3 separate regions of the Homo sapiens genome follow, and all the other regions are linked to region 2. Evidence: promoter capture Hi-C in human tissues and cell types (Jung and others, 2019). All regions are on one chromosome and are shown on one strand. The core of a region is centred on a gene start or on the middle of the fragment in contact, and the rest is flanking DNA. Distances in the headings are between cores, read along the strand shown.

Evidence for each region. The method cuts DNA at HindIII sites, captures the fragments that hold promoters and counts their contacts. A contact is called where the count stands out against the background at its distance.
Region 1: a contact is called between a fragment that was not itself captured here and the fragment with the promoter of RFPL3S in region 2, in 4 of the 25 tissues and cell types used here (liver, neural progenitor cells, small bowel and 1 more).
Region 3: a fragment that was not itself captured here is called in contact with the fragment with the promoter of RFPL3S in region 2 in 5 of the 25 tissues and cell types used here (H1 embryonic stem cells, dorsolateral prefrontal cortex, lymphoblastoid cells and 2 more).

Annotation. Positions count from the first base shown.
Region 1 is chr22:32,223,690-32,228,138 of GRCh38, reverse strand. It overlaps SLC5A4 (solute carrier family 5 member 4), which reads left to right. Exons shown (of 15, transcript NM_014227.3): 12 at 2,316-2,484; 13 at 3,657-3,872. The region is part of intron 2 of SLC5A4-AS1 (SLC5A4 antisense RNA 1); the gene reads right to left. Among named protein-coding and RNA genes, the nearest start is that of SLC5A4-AS1, 21 kb to the right of the region's middle. The HindIII fragment of the contact is 9,387 bases long and covers 1-4,449 here.
Region 2 is chr22:32,368,478-32,372,673 of GRCh38, reverse strand. It overlaps RFPL3S (RFPL3 antisense), which reads left to right and starts at 1,410. Exons shown (of 5, transcript NR_104232.1): 1 at 1,410-1,476; 2 at 1,733-1,775; 3 at 4,107-4,177. The HindIII fragment of the contact is 22,540 bases long and covers 1-4,196 here.
Region 3 is chr22:32,151,359-32,155,726 of GRCh38, reverse strand. C22orf42 (chromosome 22 open reading frame 42) reads left to right here. Exons shown (of 9, transcript NM_001010859.3): 2 at 1,409-1,483; 3 at 3,101-3,165; 4 at 3,633-3,660; 5 at 4,176-4,240. Among named protein-coding and RNA genes, the nearest start is that of C22orf42, 5.8 kb to the left of the region's middle. The HindIII fragment of the contact is 4,749 bases long and covers 1-4,368 here.

The DNA.
Region 1 (4,449 bases), core at 586-3,085, 140 kb after region 2:
CGATCAAGTCAAGACATGGAAATTACCAGCACCCAGAAGTTCGTTCGTCTTGGGCCACCTCGTTCCAAAGCTAACCACTGTGACTTGTGATGCTATAGCTTAGTCTTTTCCAACTTCAGGCTATCATAAGTAGAATAATTGAATTTGTATCCCTTGAAATACAATTTTTTTTTCAAGACAGAGTCTTGCTGTCGCCCAGGCTGGAGTGCAGTGGCTCGATCTTGGCTCACTGCAACCTCTGCCTCCCGAGTTCAAGCGATTCTCCTGCCTCAGCCTCCCGAGTTCAAGCGATTCTCCTGCCTCAGCCTCCCGAGTAGCTGGGACTAGAGGCGTGCACGACCATGCCCAGCTAATTTTTGTATTTTTAGTAGAGACGGGGTTTCACCATGTTGGCCAGATGGTCTTGATCTCTTGACCTCGTGATCCGCCCACCTCAGCCTCCCAAAGTCTTGGGATTACAGGTGTGAGCCATCCCCACCTGCCGAAATATGGCTTCTTTTGCTCATGTTATGTTTGCAACATTCAACCGTGTTGCTATGTGTAGCTGTAGTGTAATTTCTTTCTCTGTGATGTTCCACTGTAGTAAGATATCAGAATTTGTCTACTCTTTTCAAAGAAATTGGTATCAAGAGAAACTGACCAACTATTTAAAAGACTGTACTTTGTTGGTGACAGTAACAATAGCTTTAGTAAATTAAAACACTTGGGGCAAAACCCAAAGGCCTCACTTGGCCCAGAGCTTGACTCTGGACAAATGCTGTAGGAGAGGGAGTACAGTAGGGCAGGAGTGTACCTTTAGTAGAGAAGGTACTGGTTGGTGTTCAGGAGACCCAAGATGCAGTCGTCCCACTGATAGGTATATGATCTTGGACACACATCCTCCTTAAGTCTCAATGATAAAGTAATAACTTTTTCTTTTCCCCTCTCTCTGTTATCAAATGTCTACTATCTCACAAAACACAAATAGGAAAAAAACATGTACGTTTTTAAAATTCTTGCCTTGTGGAATATATGCCTTTGTCAGGAAGATAGACAATTAATAAAGGTATGCTACCTCAGGTGACCAGAGGTGCTAGAAAGACAAAGCAGGAAGAAAGGATGGAAGTAACCTCATCCAGGTGCTCAGGGAGTCCTCTCTGAGGAGGTGGCATCTGAGCAGAGCCTGCAATGCAGGAAGTGTGGGAGTGAGCCCCATGGTGCTCTGGGGGAAGGAAAAACGAGGGTTGCTTTCCTCCCACAGTCACATATGTGATATGTTTGAGAACAAGCAGGAGTGAGGTTCATCCATGAGAAGCCAGTGGGAGAGTGAAGAGCAAGGTCAGAAAGGTGCCTGGAGGCGAGGTCATCCAGGGCCATTGAAGTCATAACAAGACGGGATTTTATTCTACATGTGATAGGAAACTGGAACTGAATGAGTTGGGAAAGCACATGATTTGTCTTCCAATGGTAATTAAAAAAAAATACCAACAGTAAGTGTAATTTATTGAATCCTTACTGTGGTTTAGGCATTATGCTAAGACTTCCCATAGTTTATCACATTTAGTTGTTGCAAGGATGCAGTGATTTTGTAACATTTAAATGAGACATTTGTGCTTCAGTCTCCTGCCCAAATGCTTGTTCCTTCCTCCACCCCACAACTGCTTCTCTGTTTCATGTGAGCAGAGAGAGATGAATGGCCTTTTACGCACACTGCAGTAAATTGCGTCGGTTCATTTACTCACAGAACAAGCACAGACAATGCTGCAGTTTAGAAAGGTTAAGAAGTCATGCTCCCTGGACAACAGGAGCCTTTAACACGCTTTTTACCTGCTGAAGTACTCAAGTAGTAAAATGCACAAGTTAGCATTTCTTGCTGATTTACCCAGCATTCTGAGATAGAGGCTGTTTCCATTCTAACCTATGCAAACCAACTTTGTTCCCTGCAAGCTAGCAAAAGAACAAAAAATGGAAGTCTGCTTTCTTTATCATACAAATAATTGCTGGTTAATAGAAGTAGTGTGGTATTTATTTCCAATTGATATACTACATGTAGTGTATTGGAGTTATTAATCACTGATATTTTAACTATTTTTATGAATAGATATTTAATCTCATAGATGAAGCTATTATGATTAATTATAGACAAGCAATTGCTTTATTGGCACTTTACTAAAAGATCACCATTAAGCACAGCATGGGTTTATGTATGATCAAGGAGCTTGATTTTGTTTGGAAAATCAATGAGTGACAACAAGAATGAACGCTAGAACTAAAGCACAATGGAAGTAACTATAGTGCTTTTGTTTAATGTTTAAATTATGTTGTTTTCTTCTCAGGATATTTGTTCTTCTATTAACTGTTGTGAGCATTGTGTGGGTCCCACTGGTACAAGTTTCTCAAAATGGACAACTAATCCATTACACAGAATCAATTTCTAGCTACCTTGGGCCTCCAATTGCAGCTGTCTTTGTGCTTGCCATCTTCTGTAAAAGAGTCAATGAACAGGTGAGTGAAAACTGGAAAAAAAGTTTCCCTGCTGGAGTGAGAAAAAAATCGTTTATTTCACTGGGGTATCAAAATACATTCTTTCTCCCCTATTTATGCAAATCATGGCCCATCTTAATTTTAGTTGAGGTCAGCCACAATTCCTGATCCTTGCTAAAGTATAAAAATATAGCGCACATTCATAGTACAGTCTTTATATGTTTCTTACAAAATATTACGTACATACATGGTGCAGAGTTGAGGAACATGTTTGGGAGGCAGACTGCCAGGGCCCAATCATGGCTATACCACCTAATCGTATTGTGATCCTAAGCAAATTGCTTGAGTCTCTGTAAAATGAAGATAATGATAGCACCTATTCTATGGGATTGTGGTGAGTATTAAGTGAGATAAAATATGTGAAATTCTTAGAAGAAAACCTACCACACTGCTAAGAATTCAAATTGTGTTCATTACTATTGTGATATATGTAATTAATTGATTATTGTGGATCATGTACCCTTAATCTTTCAATCATTCCTTAGTACTAGCCTTACTATTATGATTTTCAGATGAGGAACAGGTGCAGAGGGGTTAGTATCTATGTGCTTTCCACATGTTACTTAATATTAGTAAGTGGGATCTTGGTATTCAGGCTTAGATCTTCTTCCATCCAAAGCTCATACCATTAATCTCCATGCAATACAGTTTTTCTAAAACATAACATCTTGAGCAGAGGAACAGACACATGTTTCCACCCCCATCAACTCCTCACAGAAATAAATTATCAAGAGCTTCATAGAACTCTCAAAACTACCTAATATCAGCTCTGGAAATTGTGTAACATAATTGATACTTCTGCTTATTTTATCAAATAAATCACAAGTGTTTTGATCTAACTATGAAACAAAAGTCAAGGAAAACTTCAGCTTGGGTCAGTGTAGACAGTAGTGTCCTGGTATTGGAGAATCAACGATGGTGCAGTGGTATGTACAGTTCAGGATCATGGAAAGCAGCATCCAACTAAGAAGCACATGTATTTGCAATTTTCTCTATGTCGGTAACCTTGTGCCCAAGGTTAGCCATTTGTTGGTCCTTAACTGAGAAAGCAGGCAGGATTATAATGATGACTTACTTGAATAAGCTTCTCATATTTTCTAAACATTCTGATTTTCTTCTTGCTTCTTTTGCAGGGAGCATTCTGGGGTCTAATGGTTGGACTTGCAATGGGCCTCATTCGTATGATAACAGAGTTTGCTTATGGAACAGGGAGTTGCTTGGCTCCCAGTAACTGTCCCAAGATTATCTGTGGAGTGCACTATCTGTACTTTTCCATCGTTCTCTTTTTTGGGTCCATGCTGGTCACCCTGGGAATTTCCCTCTTAACAAAACCCATTCCTGATGTACATGTGAGTGATGAGTAATGAATACATGCTAATTTTAAATAAGAGTTCTTGGCCGGGCGCAGTGGCTCACGCCTGTAATCCCAGCACTTTGGGAGGCCAAGGCGGGCGGATCACGAGGTCAGGAGATGGAGACCATCCTGGTTAACACGGTGAAACCTTGTCTCTACTAAAAATACAAAAAATTAGCTGGGTGTGGTGGTGGGCACCTGTAATCCCAGCTGCTCGGGAGGCTGAGGCAGGAGAATGGCGTGAACCTGGGAGGCGGAGCTTGCAGTGAGCCAAGATCGGGCCACTGCACTCCAACCTGGGTGACAGAGCGAGACACTGTCTCAAAAAAAAAAAGAGTTCCTTGCCTTTTATTGTATGCATGTATGAGTTCCAGGAAATGTATTCATTGTACCTCTAGAGCTAGAAGAACCCTAAGAGATTATCATTCAGTCACTGAAATAAAGAACAATTTGCACCTAGTATGTGCAAAGCACCAGTGAATTAAAAAGTAAGGGATTAGAAAATGGACATTATATTTTGTAAACTTCACAGAGTAGTTGGGAAGTCAATCTACAGCATTGTCATAGGACAC
Region 2 (4,196 bases), core at 161-2,660:
AAGGGTACCTATTCTCTTTGAAACATAGCAACTCTCTCATCTTAACCCTAAAATTTTCATTTGTTCTATTTATTTTAGGGCAGGTCACTTTCAACAGCTTGTTTTCTTGGGCATATCATAAAAGTATTTGCAATTGGGTGTTATGTATCAGCCAGAATACACACGTAGTTATACATTTTGAAAGTTATCTAAAATTCTGCATTCAGAAACACTTTAATTATATGTATTAGGCTGGGCATGGTGGTTCACGCCTCTAATCCCAATACTTTGGGAGGTCGAGGTGGGTGGATTGCTTGAATCCAAGAGTTGAAGACCAGCCTGGGCACCATGGAAAAACCCCATCTCTACAAAATATTAGCTGAGCATGGCGGCAAGAACCTGTAGTCCCAGCTACATGGGAGGCTGAGTTGGGAGGATCACCTGAGCCTGGGAGGTCAAGGCTGCAGTGAGCCATGATCAAGCCACTGCACTCCAGCCTGAGTGACAGAGTGAGACCCTGTCTCAAATAAAAAATTATATGTATTCACCCAAAGTGTTCACCCCACCGAGAAGATGCACTGGTGAAAATATAGTGATTTTTTTTTCCTTTAAATACTCAGTGAATGGCCAGCCGTTTACATACACAATGGTAGACAAATTCCTCTGTGAATTCACAAAGTTTGGGAGATAAATAAGTGCATAGTAATATATAGAGATAAGTGGAAAAATAAGTTTCATAATTATATTGTGAGAGAAATATGATTTTTATAATATCAAGTAACACTTTTTTCTAATTCTGAACAGTTTATTGCTTCTAGAAACATTAGATCACTCAGGAATGGTAGAAATATGACTTTTTAGGGAAATATGACTTTTAAAATGTGACTTTAAAAAATGTCACTTTTTAAGAAACATGACTTTTATAACAATATCCATTTATGCTGTCTTTAATTCTGAACAGTTTGCTTATTGGTTCTAGAAATATTAGATGACTCAGGAATGGTAGAAATATTTGGCAATGGAATTTCGAATCGAGAATGGAACTTCTGGTTGTTACTAACATATCGGTTTTGCCCCTGCTCAGTTTGAAATTCTTGCCATTGAGTGTATTTTGGGGTACACAATTTCTCCTCCTAAAACTTATTTTAATAAGCACAGAATAGTAATTAATGAGCTTGGGTTTTGTTGTTTTTTTTTTAAGTAAAACGCCTAATCTTTTATTTTATTTTATTTTATTTTATTTTTTTACGGAGTCTCGCTCTGTCGCCCAGGCTGGAGTGCAGTGGCGCTATGTCGGCTCACTGCAAGCTCCGCCTCCCGGGTTCACGCCATTCTCCTGCGTCAGCCTCCCGAGTAGCTGGGGGCTCCCGCCACCACGCCCGGCTAATTTTTTGTGTTTTTAGTACAGACGGGGTTTCACCATGTTAGCCAGGATGGTCTCTATCTCCTGACCTCGTGATCCACCCACCTCGGCCTCCCAAAGTGCTGGGATTACAGGTGTGAGCCACCACTCCCTGCCGTAAAAGGCCTAATCTTTAATGACCCTCCTGTGCGTGTGAAAGCACTCTTGTTGGTGCAGCAGAAAGCGGACCTCACAATACACATTGTGACTTTACCCTGAGACGTTGATGATGCTCCTATCACCATGGTTATGTGATTGGGTATATCTTGCCCTCGGTCCTAACTGCCACTGTCTGTGCTGAGTTTTTCAAAGTTCATAGCAGGTTGAACATGCTTGCTGTCATTTTCACAGATTCTGGTCTTTCTTATGGGGAACCTGAGTTCCTGCATTAAAGGTATGTTCACATTGGCCTGTTGAATGCTGTCCTCTCAAATGTACTAGTTAATATTTAAAAATATATTTTATTAAAAAATTCTCCTCTGTATTTTTCATATGCAGTTATAAATGTGTTTCCCGGTTATGTTTTATTCCTCAATTTATATATTTGATTCTAGTATCAAGCAGGATGCCTTTGAGCTTTTCCTTTATTTAAAAGACATGTCTTATTTCCTGTTACATCTGGCACCCCTCAAACCACCCAATTAGGTATCCTTCTGGGAAAAATATGGCAAAGTATGTTTTAATGCAGTTTTTACCTAATTAAGAACCTATTAAAATCATTAATTTTAAAAATTAGGAGCAAAGCTAGAATGATGCAGATGTCTTTGAGGCTTTTAACACAACGAAGTGTGTCCATCTTTGTCTTTTGTTGTTGTTTTTTTGTTTGTTTGTTTGTTTTTGAGATGGAGTCTCACTCTGTCGCCCAGGCTGGAGTGCAACGGTGCGATCTCGGCTCACTACAACCTCCGCCTCCCGGGTTCAAATGATTCTCTCGCCTCAGCCTCCCGAATAGCTGGGATTTCAGGCACCCACCATCATGCCCGGCTAATTTTTGTATTTTTGTAGAGACAAGGTTTTACCATGTTGGCCAGGCTGGTCTTGAACTCCTGACCTCAGGTGATCCACCTGCCTCGGCCTCCCAAAGTGGTGGTGTTACAGGCGTGAGCCACCACACCAGGCCCTGGCCTGTTTTTAGTATGTCTTTCCTCTCTCCTTTTTCATGAAATGTGTATTCAGTTTAGTAAATTTGGAATATGTCATTTATATTCACATATTAACTTTTTGAAAAGAAGTAAGAATGTGTATTGTCTATGTGTCAGTGTGTGAAACAAAACACACTTATTTTTATGATTGGGGTTTATCCAAAATGATAGAGATAACAATTATAGTCAATCACCCAAACCACTTACCTTTCCAAAGGTAAATATAATCAAGTGTAATCATTTTTTCTCATCCAGAGAGTAGTTCATATTTCAACATACAAAGATAGAGAAGTGAAATGAATCGGTAAACACTATTAACCAAGAACATACAGATTTACTCACACCAGGAAACACGTAGGTCACATACATATATGTAAAGATACATTTAAAAATAATAAGATGATAATTGTACAAGTTTGCATATAAAGTGTAACTTTGAAAAACTGTTAATACTGTTTCTGATGGATTGTGTGACTTAGTTCTCCTGACCTATCCTTCAGAGTTCTTTCTAAGGAGGTTGTTCGTTCCATGACTTGGAAACAATCGAAAGTTAGAGGCACTTACATGTGTTAAGAATAAATAAGGCAGCTGGGCGCGGTGGCTCATGCCTGTAATCCCAGCACTTTGGGAGGCCGAGGCAGGCAGATCACCTGAGGTCAGGAGTTCAAGACCAGCCTGACCAACATGGAGAAACCCCATCTCTACTAAAAATGCAAAATTAGCTGGGCGTGGTGGTGCACACCTGTAATTCCAGCTACTCAGGTGGCTAAGGCACAAGAATCACAGAACACAGGATACCACTTCACAATTAGCCTCAGGTGTCACCCTTGTGGCAACTCTCCTGTACAGCTGGGTTAAAGAGCCTCGGTGCTCACATGGGGTCATCTCCTCACTCTGCCTTCCTTCACTGTGGGTAGCTTGGGCTGAAACTAGACCTCATATGGCTAGGTGAACTAGACCTGGCTGAAACTAGGCCCCCTCATGCAATGATTGCAAACACAAGGGATAGGAAGGGAAGACTAAAAGGAAGATCTTTGATTTACAGTGGATATTTTAACATGTATTTCAGTATTTTCCAGTTTTTAATAATTGATTTATAACAAAGAATTGAGTAAATATAATTAGCCCTGGTACCTGATATTGAATTTAGTTCCTCAATAAAAATTTACACATAAACAGGGGCTGAATCCTATACCCCAGATGTTAAATGTTACAGCAGCAGATGGGGGTCTGTGGAGGTTGAAAGGGAGTTGGTCAATATCAAGGAGTCAGTGGCAGTTCTGCTGGACTTTAAAATGGGCTGAGGGAGTGACAGGACTCTGTGGTTGAATTCTAGCATGCATTTTAGTAGTTGCTCATTTGAAGTTTGAGTATTTCGTGTCGCTTTCATCTGCTATTACCTGGAAAGACAAAGGCTCTATTTCTCATTTCCTTTCTGCCCGTCTCTCTGCCTTCCTTGGTCCATAGAAGAGGATGGCCCAGGAGAAGCTCAATTCATGCTTGTTAACCAACCACATCCATAAGTTCTAGCCCTTTGTTCATGTCACCACCAATGAACTGACAGTCATGTTGTGTCCTTTCAGTTCCCCCAGAAGATCAATGGAAGGTGGATTCCAAAGAGTGGGCAAGTGAGGACCCCTTCTCTGTTACCAAGGTAAAGTAGCCTGTCTTTG
Region 3 (4,368 bases), core at 1,045-3,544, 220 kb after region 2:
AAATGAAGTTAAATGCTATTAACAAATCTATAAATGGATAAAAATATACTATGATATATCAAATGTCACAGCTCAGTCATGGTCACAACATTGATTAAAACGTTAAACAGTTTAGGCAAGTCTGAGAACTGAGAGGGAAGTACAGGATTGCTTTGGAAGCCAGAATTAGGATTGTCGGAGCAGGGGAAGCAGAAGCAAGGCGTGAGTGTGCACAGGACTGGGGCACGCAGCAGCTCCATGGTATGCTGTGTGTCCTCTTACATGGCAGGCCACCTCCAGGCCAGCAGATGAGAATCACCTGATGGGAGATTTAGGTAAAATCACCCAAAATAGAGTGGATTTAGGTAAAATCCCAGACTGTGCATCATAACTGAGAGACTTTAAATGTTTGTCTTATGGGTCATAAAGCTAATCAAAGTGAAAATGCAGGGATAATAGACCAGGTGAGTAAATGCAGTAAGCCACCTGCCATCTCTCCAGGGCATCAACCATCCCAAAGAAATATTGGGGCAGCAGGATTTGACAAAGCTTGTGAGAAGAGCTCTCAGTTCAGGGTCCAGGGCATGATCTAGAGGACTCAGATGTTCTGGGATCTCTGTCCCCAGGGAACCAACTACATTCTTGTCCCAGATCTTCATGCCTCACTGTGGTAACTCTGGGCAAGTCACTCAAAACGTCTAAGTTTTAATTCATTGAATTGGAAAATACGGGTTGTAGCCCCTGCTCTGCCTGTCCCTCAGGGCTAATGTGGGGATCAAGGAAATGACAGATCTTTTTCATGAGCTGGAAAGCATCATGCCCATGGAAACAGTGAAGTCACCTTCCACCCTCCCCTGCCCGGGAGCCATACACGCTCCCTCTCTGTATTCAACCACTACCAAGTATCTGGATTATTCTCCCAGACATTGAATGATTGAACACTGTTGGGCATTTACAAAGCATGAGTCTTCTTAAGCCTTTATCTGTATCTCATCCTTTTTAGCCCTATAGATCTTAGTAGGTCTATAGCAGAGATCTACTAACATTCCCACATCTCAGAATAGGGAACTGAGGCACAGAGGGGTTCATTTCACTCTCCCAGGTATGTGCAGATTCTAAGTAGGATTTGAACCCAGGCCATTCTTGGTGACTTGGATCTGCTGCTTTTCTATATTGTCTCATCTAAATAAAGGTATCTGCCTGCACAAACAGTCTGTTTTAAATGCAACGAACCTTGCAAAATCTTCCAAGAACCCAAATCTAATTCAGGTAGAGTTGAAAAGCAGACGGTGCAAACCGGGATCAAAACTTTCATCTGTGAATAAGTTTTTACTAATTTCTCTGCTATCCTCTGCCAGCAACATGTCAAGCACTGTCTTTATTATAATACATTTCCTAGAATCTATAAGAAGTCTGCTCTACCTTGCAGGTTTGGACGCCCGCTCCAAGCGCTGGTTAAAAATAATATGGAGACGGCACGGGATTTGGCCTCTAGAAAATATAGGTAATGTGGAAATTAAATCATTAAGTTCATTTAAGCAAACAATTCCAGTTTATTCATTCAGTGCTCCATATTAGAGAAACTCAGTAAATGCTATGTCATGTTCTTCATTTATTTCATTTGTGCCAATTTAAATGCATTAAATCAATGGTAGATGATACAACTACACAAGTAAAGTAATATTGACAAGTTAGAGTTGTTCTTTTGTGTGTGTGTGTGTGTGTGTGTGTGAAAAGGTCTCATTTGTCGCCCAGGAGTGCATTGGTGCAATCACAGCTCACTGCGATCTTGACCTCCCCAGGTTCAGGGGATCCTTCCACCTCAGCCTCCCAAGTAGCTGGCCATAAGGCACGTGCCACTATACCAAGCTAATTTTTTTTTTTTTTTTTGTAGAGATGGGATTTCACCATGTTGCCCAGGCTTAGTTCAACTTTGATAGTAAAGGACATCTCAAATGTTTAGACATTTGCTTTCAGTTTGGTCAATTATGAATACAGCTATTATAAACCTTCCTGTGTCTTGTTTGGAAACACAATTTTTAAAATGTAACTGAGGAAATACTTAGGATTATGATTACTTGCTTGTATGGTAAGACTACATTTTTCTTTGTAAGAATTTCGGTAGAATTTACCAGTGAAATCATCTGAATATAGTGTTTTAGTTTTTTGAAAAGATATTAATCATTGATTCAATTTCTAAAATAAATATAGGCCTATTCAGATGATCTATTTCTCCTGAGTTTTGGTCTTCTAAAATAGATTTTAACAGTTAGCTCATTTCATCTACTGTATCCAATTGTGAGCACAGATGTGTTCAGGATATTCCTTTATTATTTACTATTTTTTGATTTGACTCTTCTTAAACAGATATTATTAGTACACTGTGACTTCTTTCTTTCCTTTGTGGGTAGCCAAGGTAGAGGTTTATCAACATTACTGATCTTTTCAAAGAACTGGTTTTTGGTTTTGTTGATTTTCTCTGAGGATTTCCTGTTTTCTATTCCATTGTATTCTGCAATCATTATTTATTTTTCCTCTGTTCTATATTACACTGCTGTCTTTCTCTCATTGCCCAAGTTGAAGCTTAGATTATGAATTTAGATATTTCTCATTATTGACACAGCACCCTGAATGTAACTCATTGAATGTAATCTCATTAAAATGCACACTTAATAATTAAAATGATAAATATGTATGCTTCACTACAATTTGAAGAACACAACAGGGTAGATGATCAATGTAGTGGCAGGATATGTAGATCCACAGAAGTTAAATGATCTTGTAACATTTCATAAAATTGGGGATTTGCCTGGACCTTCAAATGGGGAGGAGGTGTGATGAGATGCTGTCGCTGAACCATACAGTGCCTTTCTGTATTAAACTGTTCTTAAGGTGACATTGATGAGGTTGCCCTAGCTGGAAAGCCAAGGCTCTTTCATTTCTTTCTGCCCCTCTCCTTTGCCTTCCCTCAACACCAAGGAGAATGGTCCAGCAGCAGCTCAGTCCATGCCTGTCAACCGCCCACCTCCACATACTCCAGCCCCGGTCCACATCCCCCAGGGCTCCTTGTGGGATTCCTCAGCAGCACCAATGCACTGACTGTCACTCTGTGTTCTCCTAGGTCCCACTGAAGATGTGCAGGCGTCTGCACACGGCGGTGTGGAGGAGAATATGACATCAGATATTGTAAGATGTATTTCTTTCTCTGGAAGAGAAATGCTTTTTGTTTTTTCTGGGGCTTCTAGAATATCAAGTGAGTATCATTTTTGACTGCCATCATGATTCAGGCCTCAGTGTCATGGACTCTAGAGACCGGTCACTGGAGGTTATGACCAACTGAGGCCTGATTGACGATGGCCGTCAAAGGACGGCATCACTTACAAACTGTTTGGTAGTGAGTGTATTTCTCAGTAGCAACCTTTTCTCCTTGAAAAATAATTTTGTATTTGCCAGCCAACATAGACTTGCTAAATATTCCAAAAAACCCACTGCATTTTCCACAAGCATCCTCTATGCTTTATTTGGGGGCCAGTGACTTGATCACTGTTTCACATCCGGTTTTTTATTTCACCAAGTGAATAAAAGGCCTTTGCCAACAGAACCCAGCATGATCTGATCCTCATGGTGTTTCTTTTTCTTTTCTCTTATTGCAGGAAATACCTGAGGCCAAGCACGACCACCGTACGTATTTTTTTTTTAAACAGCTTTATTTACATGTAGTTGACATGCAAAACAATTCACTCATTTAACGTAAGTGATTCAGCGTTTTTACTATATTCACAGGGTTGTGCAACCATTTTACAATCTAATCTTAGAACCTCTTTATTCCCCCTCAAAGAAACCCCACTAGTAGTCACTCCTCTGTCTTTCCCAACTCCCACACCCCTGGATCTAGGCAGCCACGAATGTACTTCCTGTTTCTATAGTACAGCGCCTTTCTGTGTTAACCGGTTCTTAGGGTGACTATTTCACATTCATGAGGTTGCCCTAGCTGGAAAGCCAAGGCTCTTTCATTTCTTTCTACCCTTCTCCTTTGCCTTCCTTCAGCACCAAGGAGAATGGTCCAGCAGCAGCTCAGTCCATGCCTGTCAACCGCCCACCTCCACACACTCCAGCCCCGGTCCACATCCCCCAGGGCTCCTTGTGGGATTCCTCAGCAGCACCAATGCACTGACTGTCACTCTGTGTTCTCCTAGGTCCCACTGAAGATGTGCAGGTGTCTGCACACGGCGGTGTGGAGGAGAATATAACGTCAGATATTGTAAGATGTATTTCTTTCTCTGGAAGAGAAATGCTTTTTGTTTTTTCTGAGGCTTCTAGAATATCAAATGAATATCATTTTTGACTGCCATCATGATTCAGGCCTCAGTGTCATGGACTCTAGCGACC